Regions from separate parts of the Homo sapiens genome. Here region 1 is linked to region 2. Evidence: promoter capture Hi-C in human tissues and cell types (Jung and others, 2019). All regions are on one chromosome and are shown on one strand. Each heading gives the region's core, a stretch centred on a gene start or on the middle of the fragment in contact. The rest is flanking DNA. Distances are from core to core; before and after follow the strand shown.

Evidence for each region. Contacts are between HindIII fragments. The study calls those that stand out against the background at their distance.
Region 1: a fragment that was not itself captured here is called in contact with the fragment with the promoter of DPH7 in region 2 in 2 of the 25 tissues and cell types used here (H1 embryonic stem cells and dorsolateral prefrontal cortex).

What each region holds. Positions count from the first base shown.
Region 1 is chr9:137,931,016-137,935,748 of GRCh38, reverse strand. All of the region lies in intron 6 of CACNA1B (calcium voltage-gated channel subunit alpha1 B), which reads right to left. Among named protein-coding and RNA genes, the nearest start is that of CACNA1B-AS1, 14 kb to the left of the region's middle. The HindIII fragment of the contact is 9,868 bases long and covers 1-4,733 here.
Region 2 is chr9:137,576,877-137,581,539 of GRCh38, reverse strand. It overlaps DPH7 (diphthamide biosynthesis 7), which reads left to right and starts at 2,615. Exons shown (of 9, transcript NM_138778.5): 1 at 2,615-2,915; 2 at 3,937-4,070. The coding sequence starts at 2,763. RefSeq lists enhancers at 2,210-2,269, 1,364-2,335 and a silencer at 2,520-2,929. The HindIII fragment of the contact is 7,311 bases long and covers 154-4,663 here.

The sequences.
Region 1 (4,733 bases), core at 1,776-4,275, 350 kb before region 2:
TGTGGAGCAATAGGAACGCTTTTACACTGTTGTTGGGAGTGTAAACTAGTTCAACCATTGTGGAAGACAGTGGGCAATTCCTCAAGGATCTAGAACTAGAAATACCATTTGACCCAGTGATCCCATTACTGGGTATATACCCAAAGGATTATAAATCATGCTACTATAAAGACACATGCACACATATGTTTATTGTGGCACTATTCACAATAGCAAAGACTAAGAACTAACCCAAATGTCCATCAATGATAGACTGGATTAGAAAAATGTGGCACATATACACCATGGAATACTATGCAGCCATAAAAAAGGATGATTTCATGTCCTTTGTAGGGACATGGATGAAGCTGGAAACCATCATTCTGAGCAAACTATCGCAAGGACAGAAAACCAAACACCGCATGTTCTCACTCACAGGTGGGAATTGAACAATGAGAACACTTGGACACAGGGCAGGGAACATCACACGCCGGAGCCTGTCATGGGGTGGGGGGTATGGGGGAGGCATAGCATTAGGAGAAATATGTAATGTAAATGATGAGTTAACGAGTGCAGCAAACCAACATGCCACAGGTATACATATGCAACAAATCTGCACGTTGTGCACATGTACCCTAGAACTTAAAGTATAATGAAAAAAAAGAAAATTTATCCCCTCATTTCTCGTATCATTTTTTGACTTCCTTAAATTGGGCTTTGCCTTTCTCTGGTGCCTTCTGATTAGCTTAATAACTAATCTTCTGAATTCTTTTTCAGGTAAATCCGGGATTTCTTCTTGGTTTGGACCCATTGCTAGTGAGCTAGTGTGATTTCTTCGGGGTGTTAAGGAACCTTGTTTTGTCATATTGTCAGAGTTGGTTTTCTGGTTCCTTCTCATTTTGGTAGGCTCTGTCAGAGGGAAGGTCTAGGGCTCAAGGCTGTTGTTCAGATTCTTTTGTCCCATGGGGTGGTCCCTTGATGTAGGTAGTACTCTCCCCATTTTCCTAGAGCTGTGGCTTCCTGAGAGCTGAGCTATAGTGATTGTTGTCTCTCTTCTGGATCTAGCCATCCAGCAAGTCTACCGGGTTCTGGGCTGGTACTAGGGGTTGTCTGCACAGAGTCCTGTGATATGAACTGTCTGTGGGTCTCTCAGCTGTGGATACCAGCACAGTATTTTGGGTATCTCCCAGGTCCTGCTGGAGCAATCCGCTTCCTTCAGAGGGTCTATGGGTTCTCTCGGCTTTCCTGATTTATTTCTGCAGTCATTCTGGAGCAAAAGTTCACGATACAATCCTCCACAGGCTGCTCTGGCCATCCGAGTGGGAACTGCAATCTAGTCCTGCCTCCCGTCTGCCATGATCTCCAAAATGAGAAATCAGGTACTTGTTAAAACATGGAAAGAGGGATCACCTGCTCAACTATTGCAACCCAAATGGAAGGGACCATTTTCAGTGGTGCTGGACAAGCCTTCTGTGGTCAAAGTACTAGGATTAGGTAGTTGGATCCATCTTTCCAGGGTCAAGCCTGCAATAACTGAAGCCCTGGACCTGGAACCTGAAGCTCCTATCAGCCACTACACCTGTGAACCTGTGGGAACAGTGAAGTACCTGTTTAAAAGACAGCCGAAAAATAAGTAAATGCCTACCAACTTTCCTTGGTGTCTTTGTTGCATACTTATCGTAAGCTGGATATTGGTAGCTATTTTTTATATTTTTACAATTTGTTTTATTCAAAATGGATGGAATCACTTCCTTTGTAATAATTAACCAAAGTGTTTCAATTCATTTTTATAACAAGCATTCCTGACAGCATAGGTATCCACCCCCTGAAGTTCCCATTCTATAGGACAAAATAACAAATAAGTAATTTTTTTTTTGTTCCATAATGGTCACCCACAGCCTGTGTATACAGGAACCATGTCTTACTAGCAATCAGCTTTATTTCACAACAGAGCTTCCCTTTACCCCTCCAGCAATTAGTGGATTCTGGGTATTTATTAAGAACTTTAAATTTAACACAAAGACTTAAATACCACCAGCCCAGCCCTGGCAAAGGACTGTTGGTTTTGTTTATCTCCATCATCATCTAAATATACTGCCATCCTGATCCCAGCCCAATCTTGGGCCCTTAAGGAAATGACCTATCACCCTAACTACAAAGGAGGAACTCTCTTCAAACTAATGAGCCTGGATGACATACATGAATTCAAAATCATGGAAATGACAAGGGTTACAATGACAGGATAAGCAGTAAACCTACTCCAATCCCATCTGAGCAACCTTTCTGGAGTTGCATCCCCTCAGAAACCAATTTGGGGCCCAATATAAATGTACACAGAGCTAAAATTGCAGGTGCCACTTTGTATTAACAGAAGCGAAAATTCTGGTCCGGTCCTTGGAACCTTGAAAAGTCATCAATGTGCCGGACGCGGTGACTCACACCTGTAATCTCAGCACTTTGGGAGGCCAAGGCGGGCAGATCATGAGGTCAGGAGATTTGAGACCACTCTGGCTAACACAGTGAAACCCCATTTCTACTAAAAATACAAAAAACTCACACCTGTAATCCCAGCACTCTGGGAGGCCGAGGCAGGCAGATCATGAGGTCAGAAGATTTGAGACCATTCTGGCTAACACAGTGAAACCCCATTTCTACTAAAAATACAAAAAACTAGCCGGGCGTGGTGGCACGCGCCTGTAGTCCCAGCTACTCAGGAGGCTGAGGCAGAAGAATCGCTCGAACCTGGGAGGTGGAGGTTGCAGTGAGCTGAGATCGCACCATTGCACTCCAGCCTAGGCGACAGAGAGAGACTCCATCTCAAAAAATATAATAAATAAATAAATAAATAAATAAAAGTAAAGATAAAATAAAGTCATCAATGCAACTACACCCTGGAAGTTAATCCTTCACTCGATTACGTAAGCTATACAGTTACCCAAACCGCATCATTTAGATAACCTGTACGGTTTTCATGGAAACCATCCCTGGTTAAGGGCTTTAAAGGATGGACAGCCTAAGTATGGTCGAGGCAGGCCCACTAGCTGCATTCACGGTTTCCCTTGTGAAGAATGTACTAATCCTGAGACGTCTAGTTGCCTTTTGGTTCCCCAGTATGAAAATACCTCTGGGTGATTGTTACTGGACACTAAGCCTAACTACCTCCACTGGGAAAAGAGAACTGCTGGGGCAACTCAAGATACTTCCCAAGATCCTTTCCAGCCTTTAACCAGGGCCACCTTAGCAAAGACCTCAACCATATGGGAAAGTGAAAACAACAAGCTAGCCCATGTGTTCACCATAGAAAACAAGTTCTGTCTTGAAAAACAAGGAGCCTTTTTCCCGTGCGGGACCAGTTCCTACTTAGATTTACCAGCCAACTGGACTGGAACCTGTAACTTGTTATTTAGCTCCCAAAATTAATGTAGCTCCCAACAACCAATTCTTCACTATACCTTTAACTGCAACCACCAGACACAAATGAGCCATCCAACTCACACCCCTTTTGGTTGGGTTAGGAAGAACAGCAAGAGTAGAAACGGGAGTTAGCAGGCTTGCAATCTCCCTATCCTATCACTAACTTGTCCAGAGATTTTATGGAAAGCTCAGAAGACACTGCCCAAAGTATCGTCGCCATACAAAATCAGACAGACTCCTTGGCAGCAGTCACTTTACAGAATTGAAGGGGACTGGATCTCCTAACTGCTTAAAAAGGTGGCTTATGTCTTTTTCTAGAGGAAAAATGCTGTTTTTATGTCAACTAATCAGGATTAGTAAGGGATGCCGCCTGGAAATTAGCTGACTGGGCCCCTAAGATACGACAACAGCTGTCTGAGTCATGGGGCTCCTGGTCAGAAATGCTAAGTTGAGGTGCATGGCTCCTTCCTCTAGCCGGCCCATCACTAATGACTATATTTGCCTTGGTTTTTGGACCATGTTCATTAAATCTCTTAAACAAATTCATTTCCTCTCGCCCAGAGACCATCAAGCTTCAGATGATCATGAGACAAGGTTTCCAGCCAGTTCCAGGTAAAGACACCACCCCTGGCCATCCAGCAACTACCATGTCTCCACTAGACAGAGCAGGGTGAGAGTTCCATGATCCCCAATAGGTAGGAACTGTGCCCAAATCAGCATGAAGCAGTTACTGAAGAAAAAACCATCAGTCCCTCGGCCTCCTATAAAGATGATGGGGATCACATCTCGGGGGAAATGAGGCAGGAGAATAGGGTCTGGAGGCAAGGAACCTAAGGCCGATTTGTGCTGACTTCCTAGAACTAAATCAAAAGGAAAACTCCACCTCTCCACATCCAAGTAACAAAAGAAGAGGCTACTCCCTTTGCAACGCCCCCCATTCCACTGTATCGCAGACGAAAAATGGAAAGTACCTGATTGGTCGCCTCCCATGACCAATCAGAATGGTAGAGGGCCTGGTCTTCATTTACACAGGGTGTAAGCAGCTAACCAATGGGAAACCTCTAGAGAGTATTTAAACTCCAGAAAATTCTGTAACCAGGGCTCTTGAGCCGTTTACGCGAGCCCGATCCCACACTATGGAATGTACTTTTGTTTCAATAAATCTGTGCTTTCATTTCTTCATTTCTTCATTCCTTTGTTGCTTTGTGCATCTTGTGCAATTCTTTGTTCAAACCGCCAAGAACCTGGACAACTCGTAGTCAAGACCCTCCCCAGATAATACCATCTAATGTAGAAGATTCCTTCAGTGTGGAAGGGTGAGGCTGCAATGAGCTGAGATT
Region 2 (4,663 bases), core at 1,366-3,865:
GCTGGGATCCTGCCTGTCTCCAGGTGCGCCCAGCCAGAGGCCTTGCTTCTTGGGAGCTGGAAGCCTGGCCAGTCCGACTCTGACCTGTCTGGTCTGGTCCGGTCCGACCCTGTGTTGGTCCCACAGGTTGCTGCTACACTTTCCCTTCTTGAAGCTCCACTGCCATGTTCCAGGACACCCTGTGTGTTCTCATTGCTGCCCCTGGCTGGGCTGGCTTTTGTCTGTAAGCAAAACTTCCAGTACCTTTTCTGGCAGTACCCTGGGGGCTCCTGAAGAACAGGACTGCTGAAAATGGGTGATATCAACAAACTCCGCAGGATTTCCTGGAGCTTAGAGAACTGCATGTGCCCACATCAGGCCCTGAGAAGCCCCCTTAGCTGCTGCAAAGGTTGGGGACATTTTTTGCTGAGTAGGTGAAAGCTGCCAGGGAGGGGGACATATGTGTCCCTAGAGATGGCGGGTCAGCAGGTTGGGGTTTGGGGCAGTCTTCAGGCCTGGAGCCCCGAGTGCCCTCAGGCAGCCTGCTTTCAGATAGAGTCTGAGGATGAGCACGGAGTGCAGGGGTCCCCTTTACCTGCATCCAGGGGTGTGGCCATGTTGCCCCTGACCAGCAGGGCTGCTTTGTTTGGCAGTCATTCATCAGAAAAGTGCACTGAAAGAAGCGCCCAGGGCCTCCCACCTGTGAGACACCACGCTGGGGAAGGGGGCGGTGCAGGTTCTAGGTTTGCATGTGGCAGCTCCTCCAGGCCTCACCCCAGCAGGTGGCACCGTGAGGGTGGGACGGGCCCCACCACTGCTTCCCTCTCACCTGATACCCAATCCTCTGGTCATCTTTCCCGTTCCGTGGCCCCGACTTCTTGGTCTTCGTAGCCAGGTATCTAAGACGTCCTGTGAGGACATCCAGATGGCTGCAATGTGGGGCTGCTTCTAAAGCTTGTTTGGAGTGTGGTGTGTTGGGATGCGCACCTGGTCACTCTCCCTCCCCCGCAGAGGTGTGTGGTTGAGGCCCTTTTGGAATGCCCTGCTGCCTTCCTGGCCAGCCTTTTCTGCGCCTCTGTCTCTGTGGTGGTCTGAGCTGTTGGCTCTCTGCCATGTCTTTAGCCACAGCCCTGCTTGAAGCCCTGAGGCTGAATACCCAGGCACCCGTATATTTCAGTCAAGTCCGCCTTAGCTTCCTGGAGCTGCCGCAACAAAGCAGCGCGAGCTGTGCAGCCTGAAGCAGCGGGAATTCACAGTCTAGGCTCTGGAGGCCGGAGTCTCAGATGAAGGCGCAGGCAAGGGCCCTCAGGTGCGGACGCCTCCTCCCTGCCAGGTGCCTTGCCTGCCTCCCTGTGCTCTGCACAGCAATGGCCCTGCAAGTCTTCTGCATCAGCTTTCTCTTCTGCGGACTCCTGCTCCTCTGGGTCAGGGCCCACGCCTGCTGCTTCTGAGAGCCCCTGTTTGTTAAGGATGCTCTCTGAGGTGCTGGGGTCTTCAGTCCATTGTTTTTTGGGGGGCACAGTTCAACCTGTAACGGCCCAAGGGGTTCTTCCTGCCCGCTGCACACATTCAGACCGTGGATTGCAATAAAGAAAAAAAGTTTAGGGCCGGGCGCAGTGGCTCACACCTGTAACCCCAGCACTTTGGGAGGCCGAGGCGGGTGGATCACGAGGTCAGAAGATCGAGACCATCCTGGCTAACACGGTGAAACCCCGTCTCTACTAAAAATACAAAAAATTAGCTGGGCGTGGTGATGCGCGCCTGTAGTCCCAGCTACTGGGGAGGCTGAGGCAGGAGAATGGCTTAAACCCGGGAGGCGGAGCTTGCAGTGAACTGAGATCGCGCCACTGCACTCCAGCCTGGGTGACAGAGCAAGACTCCGTCTCAAAAAAAAAAAACAAAAAAATTAATAGACACGGGCCGGCCAGGCCACATGTGAGATGGAGTTCGTCCTCAGATCATCTTGTCCAAAGCTCCTAGGTTAGGGGTTTTTTCAAAGGCAGTTTTGGGGGAGGGGGGCGGCGGCCAGGCGACTGGTGCTGATAATCATAGGGGTCGGAGCCGTCCACCTGCTGAGCCGCTTCTGGGGGGTCCTGATGCAGCCACGGGTGTCAGACAAGCAAAGACCCTGGAAGGCGGTCTCTGAGGGGCAGCTCCGCCATGGCGGGTTCACAGGAGGCAGGCAGAGCGCGCCTGCGGCCTCGGGGTGCTGGGCTTAGTGGGGCGCGGGCTCCTCATCAGCTTTACGAAGGCGTTGATTCCGGGGCAAGGCCTGTCATGGAAACTGCAGCCTAAATGTTAAGTCAGCGCGGCCCGATGGCCAGGAGTAACCGGGAGGGCGCCACGGGGTGCGCTACCGCAGCTCGCTGTTGGGGTTTTTCTCAGTGATAGAAATTTTGCAGAGGCGGCTTCAAACCTACGGCTCTGTCACTAACTTGCCGTCTCCAAACCTGCTTTGTGGAGGAGCGGATTTCCCGAAGCCTTCGGTCTCTACGGCCCCGCAGGGAGCAGCGCGTCTGACGCCTGAAGCCCGCCGCGGTCAGCCGGCCGACAGGGGGCGTGGGAGCCTGGCTTCCCAGGGGCGTCCACGGAGGCCAAGGCCCTGCCGGATGTCCCGCCCCGGCACCCCGGAAGGAGTCGCGAGAGAGGCGGCCCGCGCTGACGGTGTCCCTGGGGCTCTGCGCTCGTCCGGCCGGCCCCGGCCTCGCCGCCCCGCGCAGTACCCAGCCCGGCCCCGCCGACCCGCCTCTACTGCCGGCTCCGCGCCCTTCCCCGAGGGCTGGATGATGGGCTGTTTCGCCCTGCAAACGGTGGACACCGAGCTGACCGCGGACTCGGTGGAGTGGTGCCCGCTGCAAGGCTGCAGGCACCTGCTGGCGTGCGGGACCTACCAGCTGCGGCGGCCGGAGGACCGGCCTGCCGGCCCCCAGAACAAGGTGCGCGCGCCGCGGCTTCGGGAGGGGAGGGCGGGGCCGGCCACGAGGTTGAGGCCGAAAGGCGCACCGAATCGCCCAGGAGATGAAGAGGGGATATTGGCCCTTTGGCCAGGAGGTAGGCTGGAAACAGTTTAGAATCTTTTTAAAAAAATTGTTCTCGGCCGGGCGCAGTGGCTCACGCCTGTAATCCCAGCACTTTGGGAGGCCGAGGCGGACGGATCACGAGGTCAGGAGATCGAGACCATCCTGGCTAACATGGTGAAACCCCGTCTCTACTAAAAAAATACAAAACAATTAGCCGGGCGTGGTGGCGGCGCCTGTAGTCCCAGCCACTCGGGAGGCTGAGGCAGGAGAATGGCGTGAACCCGGGAGGCAGAGCTTGCAGTGAGCCGAGATCGCACCACTGCATTCCAGCCTGGGCGATACAGCAAGACTACATCTCAAAAAAAAGAAATTACTTTTTTCTGAGACAAGGTCTTGCACTGTCACCCAGGCTGGAGTGCAGCCTCGGACTCCAGGGCTCAGGGCATCCTCCCGCCTCAACCCCCTGAGTAGCTGGCACCACAGGCACGAGCCACCGCCCCCGGCCAACTTTAAAATCTTGAGAGCAGAACGTCTTCTATATACAGGTGTGGCCCAAGGGAATGGGTGGAATGTACAGTAAAGAGAAAGTGGGAATTATATCTTAACTTCTGGTGGGTACATATTAGGATCCAAATTGGGCACTGGAACAACAGGCGTAAGTCAGGACTGTCCCAGGCAAACTGGGTTCTGTGGTTACCCTAGCCATAGCTGGTCCCTGTTGGCCGGTTTAGAAGGAGCCTTCTCTACTGGGTCCAGGAGTGTTCACCTACTCATTAATAGACGTTTCTCCAGCTCAGAAAACCAGAGGTTCTCCTTCCAGGCAGAATTCCACTCCTTTAGTCATGGCAAACCTTTGAGTTCCTTGGATCCCTTTTCCCATCCTTTGGGTTCCTTCGTGTCTTGGGATAATCAGAGACTACCTCTGCATTTTTTGTAGGGTGGAATGGAAGTTAAGGAGCCTCAGGTCCGTTTAGGCCGTCTCTTCCTGTACAGTTTCAATGACAACAACTCTATTCACCCTCTGGTCGAGGTCCAAAGAAAAGATACTTCTGCAATCCTGGACATGAAATGGTATAACTGTGATAATCCCACTGGGTGTAGAATTTGTCATGAGTAGCAATCAGGGAAGCCTGATGCCTGATGCCTTCAACAAGACAGGCATTGCATCTCAACTTTGGATTTGTTTCTTTGCTGTCCCGCCTATCTTCCACCTGGGGAGTGCTTTACCTGGGGCTTATTTCCTTTGTCATGTTCCAGCCGGGGAAGTGATGGGAGTTTTCTGACTTCATAACCTGGGGCGTCTTTTGTTTGAGAACACAGTTGTAGGCTCTAGCCCACTTTTGGAGCTGAGATTTAAATGCAGTGGTGTGTGGCATAATTATGTTTTGGTCAACAATGGAGCACGTATACCATGGTGGTGCCTTAACGTAATGGAGATGCCCTATACAGGTGTACCAGTTTTTATCCTTTTTAATTTTTTTTTTTTTGAGGCAGGGTTTTGTTCCGTTGCCCAGGCTGGAATGCAGTCACGTGATCATAGCTCACTGCAGCCTTGAACTCCTGGGCTCAAGCAATTCTCTGTCTCAGCCTCTCGAGTAGCTGAGACTTCAGACTTCAGGTAGATGCCACCATGCCTCTTTTTTTTTTTTTTGAGACGGAGTCTC